3 separate regions of the Homo sapiens genome follow, and regions 2 and 3 are each linked to region 1. Evidence: promoter capture Hi-C in human tissues and cell types (Jung and others, 2019). All regions are on one chromosome and are shown on one strand. Each heading gives the region's core, a stretch centred on a gene start or on the middle of the fragment in contact. The rest is flanking DNA. Distances are from core to core; before and after follow the strand shown.

Evidence for each region. Contacts are between HindIII fragments. The study calls those that stand out against the background at their distance.
Region 2: a fragment that was not itself captured here is called in contact with the fragment with the promoter of NTNG2 in region 1 in 2 of the 25 tissues and cell types used here (dorsolateral prefrontal cortex and hippocampus).
Region 3: a fragment that was not itself captured here is called in contact with the fragment with the promoter of NTNG2 in region 1 in 2 of the 25 tissues and cell types used here (H1 embryonic stem cells and pancreas).

What each region holds. Positions count from the first base shown.
Region 1 is chr9:132,159,961-132,163,886 of GRCh38, reverse strand. It overlaps NTNG2 (netrin G2), which reads right to left and starts at 1,829. Exons shown (of 8, transcript NM_032536.4): 1 at 1,648-1,829. It overlaps LOC124902291 (a long non-coding RNA gene), which reads left to right and starts at 2,187. Exons shown (of 2, transcript XR_007061826.1): 1 at 2,187-2,271; 2 at 3,284-3,429. The HindIII fragment of the contact is 9,283 bases long and covers 1-3,926 here.
Region 2 is chr9:132,039,723-132,043,648 of GRCh38, reverse strand. All of the region lies in intron 2 of MED27 (mediator complex subunit 27), which reads left to right. Among named protein-coding and RNA genes, the nearest start is that of MED27, 38 kb to the left of the region's middle. RefSeq lists enhancers at 664-1,863, 2,346-2,845, 2,846-3,347. The HindIII fragment of the contact is 6,261 bases long and covers 1-3,926 here.
Region 3 is chr9:132,263,453-132,267,378 of GRCh38, reverse strand. SETX (senataxin) reads left to right here. Exons shown (of 26, transcript NM_015046.7): 26 at 2,394-3,926. The coding sequence ends at 3,140. Among named protein-coding and RNA genes, the nearest start is that of SETX, 90 kb to the left of the region's middle. The HindIII fragment of the contact is 6,889 bases long and covers 1-3,926 here.

The sequences.
Region 1 (3,926 bases), core at 580-3,079:
CTTTTAAGAGTCCTCAGGAACCAAGGGGGGCTGATAGCCAGGGTATTAAAACTCGAAAATTAGATTTTATCAGGATTTCTGAACTCAGATTTCTCTGTCTTATTGAATTAGCGCCTCCCGAGCTGGCTGGGCTCGCCAGCAGGTTCCTCTTGGAGTTGCCTGCTGCGCCCTCGCCGTGTGGGAAACTTGCCGCGGCGGGCGCGGGGCCCCTGGGGGCACGGGAGGGAGGGCGCTGGGGGCTCCCGGGGCTAGGGGGGATACTCAGCCCACCCCGGGGTTCCCTCTCCCTCCTCGGCAGGGGCGGCAGAGGGGGGTGAAATCTGCTTTCAGGGGAGAGTGGCGGTTGCCGGGAGGGAAAGGGAGCTTGGCCGGCGGGGTCACCTTCCCGTCCTCTGCCCCGGGCGGGGTCCAGCGGGCGCCCCGCGCTCACTGTAGCCTCGGCGGGCCTCTTAATTCCGGCGGCCCGGGTGTCCCCCCGCTCCGGAGCGGGCCCTTTATCCGGCCCCTGGGTCCCCGCCCGCGGGAGCCCTGGAAAGTTGGGCGCGGGAGGCGGGGCGCGAGCAGCAGCTCCCGGGTGGGTCCCGGCGGGCCGCGGGCGGGGTCGAGGCCGGGGCCAGGGTCGAGTCAGTGCTTCGGGCCGGCTGCGAGCCCTGTGCCTAGGACACCGACGACCCGGCAGCCCCGCAGCTGCTTTTCGTCTTCCCAAAGTTGCGTGCAAGCCACGGCAGCAATTAATAATTAAGCCCGTAATAAAGGCCCGGCCGGGACTGAGGCGCCCCCTTTTTCGGCACTGCCTCTCTTAATTAAAAGACACAGAGCAGGGCGCCCAGGAACTGGCTGTATCCTTTGCCCCGGCGCTGCCGCCTGTGGCGACCCGGCCGCCGCCGCCCCCAGCCCAGACGGCCAACTTACTCCGGAGCGGGCGGACCCCGCGAGCCCGCGGTCCTCTCTTCCCGCCTTCCCGCCGCCTCTGCTCCCCCCACCTGCGCGCCGCTCAGTTCCAGGTTCGACTCCACGCCGGCCCCAAACCAGTGCCTGCGCCCCCTCACCTCCCGACCCCCTCCCGGCGCCGGGAGAAGTTTCCAGCCGGACTGGCCGGGAGTTTCTCTGTGCAACTCACAGGCTCCCAGTTTGCAGAGAGATGGGAGGGCACGGGATGGGGGTGGCTCTAAGCGGTGGCGGTGGAATTGGGGTGGGGGAGAGGCGCGGGAGCAGGGTTAGTTTCCTTTTCCGAGACACATCCGAGCATCCTTGCAACATCCCTCCCCGACACACACACACACACACACACACACACACACACACACACACACACACTCTGTCTCTCTCTCACACACACACACACACACACTCTCACACACACGACGGAAAGGACCCGGGGGAAGCTGGCCAGAAAGACAAGCTACCCCTTTAAGATGCTGCTAAGAACGCACCCTCACACACCCCTCTGGGGCGACTCCAGTTCTCAGCTCGTAGCAGCCGCCACCAAACAACTTTTGCATCCGAGCCTTTGCCGGGCCGCTGTAAGTGGCTCCCGGGCCCGGGCAAGCCTGCATGGTCACCGAAGCCCTTTAAAAATGAAACCGGCCTGGCCAAGCTGCAGCCTCTCCCCCCGCCCGCCTCCCGGGCTCTCCCCGCCCGCCTTACCCCGGCTCGGAGCGGCTTCCCGGCGCGGAGACCTGGGAGGGCCGAGGACCGCCACCCTCCGGCGCTGCGCCTCCCCCCTCGGGCTGGCGCTGGGTGGGGGCGCGGGCCGAGGGCTGCGAGCCGCTGCTCCTTCCCCGCGCCGCTCCCGCCGCTGTGGCCGCCGCCGCCGCCGCCGTCAGATCGGGGCCAGGGAGCCCTCCGGCCGCCGGGGGGGCCGCCCGCAGCCGTCCCGGAGACGCGGGCCGGGGGAGGGGGCCGCCCGCGCCGCCCGCATCGCCCGCCCGGGCTGAGCGGGAGGTCGCCGCTAACAAGTGCAAACTTTTTGGCCCCCCTGGGCGGCCCGGGGAGGACCCGCGCTCGGGCGCCGGGCAGCCCCCGGCCCGGGTGGGCTTCGCGGCGTCTCGTCGGGGAGCCGGGGCATCCCCCCGGCGCGGCGCGGGCCAGATGGCGGGCGCTTCACTGCCCCCCTGCACTCCGCTCCAAGTTAATGCCGAGGCTAAATCCTCTTGCCATCACTCACGATCACCATCGGGGCTTTTATCTCTCGGTCTGATCCGGGCTGCGTAACTTCCTCTGTGTGGCTTTAACACACCATCCCACCACGGAGCAACGGTCTTCTTAAAGGTGCAGGAAGGAAATATTGCGCGGCTCGGGGGACGCGCCACGGCCCGGGGAGGGGCGCGGCGAGCAGGGGCGTCCCGGCGGGCCCGTGGCCAGGGTGGCCCCGGCAGCCTCTGGGGGGTCGCTGCCTAAACATCGCCTCCCGGCCCGGGGGCCAGCGGGTCCCTGCGCCCAGAGCGCATCCTCAGCCGGCTCCGGTCAGGCGCAGCCGGGCTGCAGCTTCCTCTTCCAAAACCCGGGGGCCTGCCGGGGTGCCAGCGCCCATGGGTGTGGGGGCTGCCCCATCGGCACGAGGGAGGGGGGCCAAGTGAGTCAGTTCCCCCACCCCCCACAGCCAAGGGCTCAGGGCTGCTCCTCGGTCTCTCTCTGTGAAGTGCTGCCACCCAGAAGGCCCCAAGCAGTGGGTACCGGGGTGGGTGGGTGGATTTGGGGAGATGGGGAGGGGGAGCGATCTGAGCGCACAACCAGAGCCTGAATACCAGCTGACACATCGCCGCCTCCACCCTGATGGGCCCTGCTTTTGACGAAGCCAAGCCAGCTCTGCAGGGAGTGCAGAGTAGTGGGGCAGGAGGGGCCTGGCTGAGGGGTTCTCTGTCTCCCTCCCCTGCAAGCATGGGAGGCAGGTGTGGGAGGGCTCCGGTAGCAGCAGCCCCGGGCAGAGGCCACCGAGTTCACAATATCATATCCGGCAGCCCTGGGCTCTCTGATCCCCAGGAGGTTTCCTGCCAGCCTGCCTCCCAGGGCTTCTGGGAGAGTTTCCACATCTTCCAGAAGCACATGTGGTTTTCGGACACTCCTGGCCTCCTGGGGTGGGCTCACTGCAGCCTTGAGCAGCCAGCACTGTCATTTGGATGCATCAAGAACAAAGGGCCTGAGGACAGACAGAGAGAGAGGCAGAGAGAGAGAGACCAGCCCAAGGTCACAGAGGGTGTTGGGAATGGAGCAAGACATGGCACCTCAGTGCCCCGCCCTGCTGCCACCCTTCACCTCCACCTTAACCCTTCCCTGTTCTCAGCTGCCCTGAAAACTGGAGACGGAGTTATACTGCTGAATAATATTTGGAATCTTGTGACAAAACAGGAAGAGGATGCAGAATTAAAGACTGTCATCTGCTGTAATAATAATAATAATATATTTATTGAACACCTGTTTTATGCCAGACTCCATGCAAACCAGTTTGTGTGCATTATTCACTGAATCTTCGCCAAAGCCCTGTGACTTCACTGCTAGTAGCAAAGCCTCAAGTTAGAGATGTTAAGTAACTTGCCCAAGGTCACATAGCTAAGGATTGTGGCCGGGGAGGCAGGGCTTTTGGGTTTCTGGGTGATGCTCTCTCACTGGCCTGGCTGGCTGGTGAACTTGGAACACGGCCCAGACTGCTTTGGGGCTCAGTTTCCCCATATGTGAGATATGAACGGTAAATCCTTCTTTTTTCAAAGAGGGGTCAAAAAACAGGGCCATTGTGTGCCTCTACCTGCACATGCTCTCAGATGCCTACCACTGGAGATGGGCCTATCTCACCAAGCAGCCCAGGAAGGCAGACATGGGCCCACCCCTGGTTACCTGTTCTATGCAGGAGGAAGCTCCTTGGGAGAAGAGAACAGATCTTGGTGGTTTGATTTTTAAGCATTCAGCCTGCAGGCAGCAGTGAAGGGCAG
Region 2 (3,926 bases), core at 1,055-3,554, 120 kb after region 1:
ATTATTTTTTTCAGTTTACTCTTTTCTGAAGCATATATTTTCATTTTATCTCTGTAATAGTGGAATTAGAAGGGTTTTTTCTTTTTTAAATTACAAAAGATTTTATGTATGAAACTATATATATCATATATGTGAAATGCAGATGTATAATAAATGCTCATGTACCTGCTCCCAGCTTATGAAACAGAGCAGGCAGCAGTTCCTGTGCGTGTGTTATGAGCCCCTCCTCATTCTCCCTCTCTCCTTCTAGTTCCTCCAATGTACCCCACCTAACTGAATTTTGAGTTTATTATTTCCTGAAGACAGACATCTTTATTCCTTTTTTTTTTTTTAAGAAAAAAAAAAAATAGAAGCCTTAAAAGGTCAAGTAAGTTGCTCAGGGTCTGGCAGTGAAAATAACTGTGATGCTAGCACCCAAATCTTGGACTTCTAGTATAAGTGTTACTTTTTCTTTCCGTTTTGAAACACTGTAATACCTCCTCATTGTGTTGATAGTATTGTGGTTTTTTTGACCCTCACCCTATATAGATTTAACTTTATTGGTTTTAACTATATAGATTTTTTCTGAAGAGTCATTTAAATTTTGGGGAAGCAGTGCTCTTATTACTGAGAGTTTTACATTTGCCTACTCCAGATGTTACTAGAAAACTTACCTTGTCCCTCAAAAACAAAAGTACCTATGGTCTATGGGATATCTGTGTATTGACCTCTCTAATTTGTTCCCATAGCTAGAGTTGGCAAAGGTAATGTACACATGATTAATTGGTACGTGATCACCTCTTTTATACAATCAATACCATGGTTCCAAATGAATAAACCTATCTTGAAAGATGGCTAGCCTTTCAAAAAGTCAAATGCTGGGGATTTTCCACTGGCTCTAGTTCAGTTTTTGCTAATTTTTATAACTCACATCAACATTCAGGTCACAGATGTGGATTAAAAGTGAAGCCCAGTGAAATAAGATCTAACTTGCAATGGTGGTGTGTGCAGCAGGGTCCACTCATAGATCTAAGATTCCAGCATCAGAAATGCTTAGTGTTCTTCTTGGCATTTCCTTCAGTGCTGACTCACGGTGAATGCAGATTGTGGCCACTAGACTGTGGATAAAGGAGGGGCAGGAATTGTGGGATCTTCAGTCCCAGAGGTCCCTGGGCAGTATGGCATTGTGGTTATGAGTGCAGACGTTGAAGTCTCATACCTCTTGGCACTTCCTTTTTGCCTTGTGACCTGCAGCAAGTGACTTTACCTCGTGAAGCCTGTTTTCTCATCTGTAAAATGGGGGCAACATCAGTATACACACTTTCGAGCATAAAGAGTTTATACAATGTATAAATAGGGTGTCCATGAGACTGTTTCAGTGAAAGCCTTTTCTCCGTGCCTGGCACACAGCATGGGTTAATAACTGTAGCTGCCGGTAGTGATGGCCGTCACCATCATCTTTGTCATCCTTAAGCCAGCCTCTTCATTTGTAGAGGAAGAAACTGAGTCCCAGATCCTGTGGCCACTCAGCAGCCCAGCTGGGACAAGACTGGCAGCGTCTGTGCTTCCCGTGCCGTGCTCTTTCCACCCCGCCACCTGCCTGTCTCCACATATCTCTAGATCACGTACTTTGTCACCTCCCCTGGTTCTCTGCAGTGCCGGCAGATCCTAACAACAGATGGTCCTGTTTTGAATTAAAACAATTTAACTCAAGATCCATCAACTGCCAACATCAAACACCCTTAAAAGAAGGAAAGAAACTCATTATCAAGAGTATTTAAGCAAAGTAGGTATTTAATCTATCTTAATCATTTGCATTCTTGAGAAGAAGAAAGTCAGCGGCAGCTGCCACCGTAGGCCAGGCCCCACGAACGTGTTTGCACGTAATTGCTTCTCCCTTTTCTTCTTTGCCATACCGTACTGATTTGGACTTTGGCCCTTAAGAACAAATTTTTCAGCACACTGACTATTTGACTATTTAAAAATTTAAAAAGTAATCTCTTTCATTTTGTTCCATACATCCTGTGACTGTCCATCTTTCAGTCGAGCTTTGTCACAACACACATGGGCACTGCAGGCCTTCTGACGCCGTGTGAGGCTGTGCTTGCAGTGCCCGACAGGAAGATGGGGAGCGACTGAGCTCTGTGGACGCTGCAGTCGGTAGCATGATGGTTACTGTCTGGCAGAACTGCAGTCCCCTATGTTAAATGTTCATTTGGTGCTACCCCTACATGCCATACCTGGTTCTTCCCAAAGCTTGGTGTCTACAGAATGTTTCCTTGCACCCAAATCACAGAGCTGATGGTGTGAGAGTGGATGTGTGAGCCATGAAAATATGCAGACTCTTTAGTCGTGTGTGCGTGCTCAGTTCAGTCCACTCAAGTCTGGGCTCTCAGCATGACTGTCTACTCTCCCACTTTGGACCCTCACTGCCATCCTCTCTGCTCTGTTAGCGAGCTTGTCGTCTCCCTCACAGCCCACATTAGGTGCTGAGGGACACAGAGGCAGTTGTTGACAACCCTCTTTTTCCCTTTGCTCTTTTTGTTTCTTCTCTCTACCCCTCTTTACTTTATTTCCTCTTTCTTGTTCTTCCCTTCTGCTCTTCTTCTCTGCTGCCCGTGGTGTGGTCTGATGACAGCTGCCAGCAGGGCTGCTGTGTTGCACTGCTTCCAGATAAATTGTACGCCTTGCCTCTGGAGTGGTGAGATGGCAGTGGCTCTGGGTCCTGGCTGCGAGTGCAGCTTAACTCTTTGGAACCAGGCTGTGGCCCCCTCCCCTCCCCTAATCTCAACATGAGGGAAAATGATGGAAGCACCTAGTTGTTTGACAAAGCATATGGGAGGAAATCAAACCGTTGCCTGGGCCTTCCTAGAATATCCTGCCGTGTGTGCTGGTGCTTGAGTGTGCGGTGTGTGTGCACGTGCACAGGGCGTACCGGCAGAAACAGAGATGTGCTGGTGGAGCCGAGCACTTTGTCACCTTGAGTGCTCCTTGCTGGGACCTTCATGTCCTTGACCAGATTGAAGCCTGATGGGCTGGAAGGTCTGGGTGTAGTTAAGCTCTGCCGTCTGCTCCCAGCTAAAAGTAAACATGCTGCCTTAGTATTTGTTTTCCACACCACACTTTTGCCCAATGTATAGATCTAAAGCCCTATTTATAGCTTTCTCGTGACATTTGTACGGGCAGTCTCTCGTCAGGTGATGCCTTCTCTGCATGTGGAGCCGCCTAAGACCAGCCAGCCGCTCTCCACGGCCCCACCTCTCATCCCAACTTAGATTTCTCTGTGTATAAATGGCTGCTCTTAAGCAACCTGCCATGCGGTTTCTTACCTAGTTTGGTTTAAAGTATTCTCCCACAGGGAAATAAAGCAAAAAGGTGATGGCATTTGCTTTTTAATCTTTTAATAATTCATTTCCCCGCCGCAGGGAAGAGACTGAGGCCCCTGGTGGCTGGCAGCAGCTTTGTTTAGTGCTGGGCAGCCCATATGCGGGGACTGATGCTGAGCACGACAAGGTGAAATCTCACAGGTCATCAATTTGTAGCTGACAGCATTTTGAAAAGTGATGTATAAGGAGCTGATATTGGTGTAGTGGTATGAGTGAAATTTATCATATCGTAAAGTGTATGTGAAAGGGGAATATTGTGTATTTTCTCTTTATCAAAATGTCCCACTTTTTTATTGATACTTTTCACCCTTCTATGGTCTTATGAAACAAGACAACAAAACAAAGCTTGGAATCATGAAATTTCAGAATTAGCAGAGAGGCCACAGAAGTACTATCTTTTATAAGGGAGGGACCTGCAGTCACAGAGGCGAGTGGTGTCCTTTGTAGCCAGTGAAACTCCTAGAGGCAGGACCCTGTCTTGAGTGTCTTTTTCTCCCCAGGGCCAGCACTGAACGGAGCACACAGTGGCGGTTAAGGGGTAGGAGGGATTGCCAAGCAGGT
Region 3 (3,926 bases), core at 615-3,114, 100 kb before region 1:
AAAAATTGCAAGGCCATCTGCTTCACATATGTGTTTGAGCCACAGGCTAAGGATCTCTAGAGATCTGAGTGAGAAAGAGAACTGAGCCCCCAGAGCCTGGCGCTCCCTCCACAGACCTGTCTTCAGTATGCCAGCCACCGGGCCAAGCATTTTATTCTGGTCACATGACTTTCTCCAAACCTTGAAAAACTACTGTGAAGTCAGCTTATTACCATAGTTCATCAAATTCAAGAAACCATTCATTATAATATACACCACTATTTTATGTACCATTATTAGACTATGACACAGTGCCTTATTTTCACTTAGAACTTTCATATTTATTGAAAGGACTCTTAAGACTTTAGACAGATTTTTACCATATTCTTATCCATACATAGAAAATACAAGTAAAATAATAGGTTAAGATATTCCTAAAAATATTTCACTTTCAGAATTTAGCACGAATGAATCACTTCCCAATCCATAGTCATCAGTGTTGTCATTCATCCCAAGTGCAATAATAAGGTTGGCAATTTAGCATTTGCTAAGAGTTACACCATTGTCTCCAGGATTTCTTAGAACCCTTTATCTCCAGTGTATAAGGTTTTTTTGGGGGTTTTTTTTTGAGACAGAGCCTCACCTTGTTGCCCAGGCTGGAGTGCAGTGGCACAATCTCAGCTCACTGCAACGTCCGCCTCCTGGGTTCAGGCGATTCTCATGCCTTAGCATCTCAAGTACCTGGGATTATAGCTGTGCACCACTACACTTGGCTAATTTTTGTATTTTTAGTAGAGACGGGGTTTCACCATGTTGCCCAGGCTCGTCTTGAACCTCTGACCTCAGGTGATCCGCCCGCCTCAGCCTCCCAAAGTGTTAGGATTACAGGCATGAGCCACTGCACCTGGCCCAGTGCATAAGTTTTAATGCTGGTGTTATCTTGTCTTATCAGAAAATGTCTGTAGAAGGTTTTCAGGCATTATTTTTAAATGGTTTATTGACTAAAAGTCTAAGGGTTATAATTGCCTCATCATGTAATTTCCAAGGATAGGTACATGGCCAAGAGGCTCCCCAAGGTCAGAAATGCTAAAATGTGAAAGCAACGTGCACTTTAGAATCCATTAAATAAAATATTACTCCTATTTTACAGATGAGGAAACAGGCTCAGAGAGGTCAAGTGACTTGACCAAGGTCACACAGCAAGTAAATACTGTGCAGCCTCACTGCTTCCCTAACATACCTTTATGAACAGTACAGGAGCCCCCATGAGAGGGTAGCTATCCTTTTTCTTCTTTTCTTTCTTCTTTCTAAAGAGACCCGAATTCTAGTGGTTGTAAAGCAGCAGCCTCCTCTGAAGAAACTCGGGAAGAGAGGAGAGGTGCATGTGTTTGGCAACTTTCCCGATGGGATTTAATATCTTAAGCTCCTGTAGGAAACAGGCAGAAAGTGAGATGATATCTTGAGATCTCGGTGGATGAAGATGTTTTAGCCATTCGGGGTTTGGGAGGCCTTTAGAAATCCAGTGAAAGCCTTGGGCCTTTTTCTAGAATAGTCACATGCACTCAGAAGTTTGCTTTCTGAAACCAGACCTTCCTGTTTCAGAACGTTAGCCCTGCCAAGAGGTGTAGGCAGTACTCTAGATCACCAATGTCCAAAGGACCTTTCTGTGATAACGGAAATGTTTTGTGTCTGCACTGCTCAGTACAATAGCCATTAGTCGTGTGTGACCGCTGTGTACTTGAAATGTGGCTGATGCAATTTAGGAACAGAATTTTTTATTTTAATTTATTGAAATATAAATAGCAACATGATGCTCCTAGTGACTAGTGCAGACCTGCGTTGCAGTTGAATGCACTGATAAAAATGGCTGAAGTTCGGCCAGGCACGGTGGCTCCTGCCTGTAATCCCAGCACTTTGGGAGCTGAGGCGGGCGGATCATGAGGTCAGGAGATCGAGACCATCTTGGCTAACATGATGAAACCCCGTCTCTACTAAAAATACAAAAAATTAGCCGGGCGTGGTGGCGGGTGCCTGTAGTCCCAGCTACTCGGGAGGTTGAGGCAGGAGAATGGCGTGAACCCGGGAGGTGGAGGTTGCAGTGAGCCAAGATCGCGCCACTGCACTCCAGCCTGGCAACAGAGTGAGTCTCTGTCTCAAAAAAAAAAAAAAAAAAAACAAAAGTTGAAGTTCTCCATTATAGGTTGTGACCAGGTCTTATTTTTAGGAATGGGACTTTATCATTTTTTATTTGAATTTATTTTTTCCTTTCATCCTTGTCTGACGAGTAATGAATCTTGAGAATATGTTCATACAATAATATGTATTATTTGTTCAGAAATGAAAGCTGGAACTCTATGCTTCCCAAGCAGTGTCTCTTTGGGGTGTAATTATTTCTCCCTTCTCATTGTTTCAAGGAAAACCAGCATTGGAATCAGCTGATTCAGGATGCTCAGAAGCGTGGTGCCATTATTAAGACCTGTGACAAAAACTATAGACATGATGCAGTGAAGATTCTGAAACTCAAGCCTGTGCTGCAGAGAAGTCTCACTCACCCTCCTACCATAGCCCCAGAGGGGTCCAGACCCCAGGGTGGTTTGCCCAGCAGCAAGCTAGACAGTGGATTTGCCAAGACATCTGTTGCTGCTTCTCTATACCACACACCCTCTGACTCCAAGGAAATTACTCTTACTGTTACTTCAAAGGACCCTGAAAGACCTCCTGTTCATGACCAACTTCAGGACCCACGACTGCTGAAGAGGATGGGCATTGAGGTCAAAGGAGGAATATTCCTTTGGGATCCACAACCCTCGAGCCCCCAGCATCCTGGAGCAACACCTCCTACGGGCGAGCCGGGCTTCCCTGTCGTTCACCAGGACCTGAGCCATATACAGCAGCCCGCTGCTGTAGTGGCTGCTCTGAGCAGCCACAAACCTCCCGTGCGGGGCGAACCTCCAGCTGCCAGTCCCGAGGCTTCCACGTGTCAGAGCAAATGTGATGACCCGGAAGAGGAGCTCTGTCACAGGAGAGAGGCCAGGGCTTTCAGTGAAGGGGAGCAGGAGAAGTGTGGTTCCGAGACCCATCACACCAGGAGGAACTCTAGGTGGGACAAGAGGACACTGGAGCAGGAGGACAGCAGTTCCAAGAAAAGAAAGCTTTTATAGGAAAGCCCAGTGACATGGGCCAGCAGCCACAGCATATTGTAAACTGAAGATGACCAGCTCGTGGGACCATCTAGATAAGCTTGTTTTTTGTAAGGAGTTTGTGTGCTGTTGGAAAACATGGAAAATGCATCCTTAACACCTGAGCCTCTGGTCATCTTCAGTATTTTCTGTCATTTGCAAAAGCTTTCAGAGGGCATTGTGTATCCGTAATAATGTCCTTGAAGTCAGAGACTGGAAATGTTGATCTCTTAGTCTTCTATAGACAAGGAGGTCAGACTGGAGTGAATGTTGTAAAAGTTGAAATGTATATTTGTATAGCAAATAACAAAATCCTTTTAAAATTTAATCTAGTAGACCGCTTTTCTTTCCCCCTGTTTAAAATGTTAATCAGTTTTCAACAGAACAAACTTTATATTACCAAAAAAAAAAAGATGGGAGGAGGGCGGGTCCTTTCAACCATTGTTAGAGCAAGACAGATAATTATTTAACAGCCTAGCTTGGAATAAGCTGAGTTAGTGCTGGTGGGTCAGGTGTCTCTGGCTCTATTAAAAAAAGCAAAAACCCCCCCAAAAACCTGGAGTCTCCTAGGGGACACTTTGGGCAGCACGGTTATGTTAGGTAAAGTCTTGCTGACATGGTGCATTTTTAGATAGAGTGCATTGGCCCAGGGTATTATATTTCTGTGATGAGTTCATTTACCTGTTTCAGTATGCACATAGTTCCCTAGCTAAAATTCCTAATCTTCTTGAGAGAGAAGAATATGGAGTGAAAGAATAATTCTTGAGC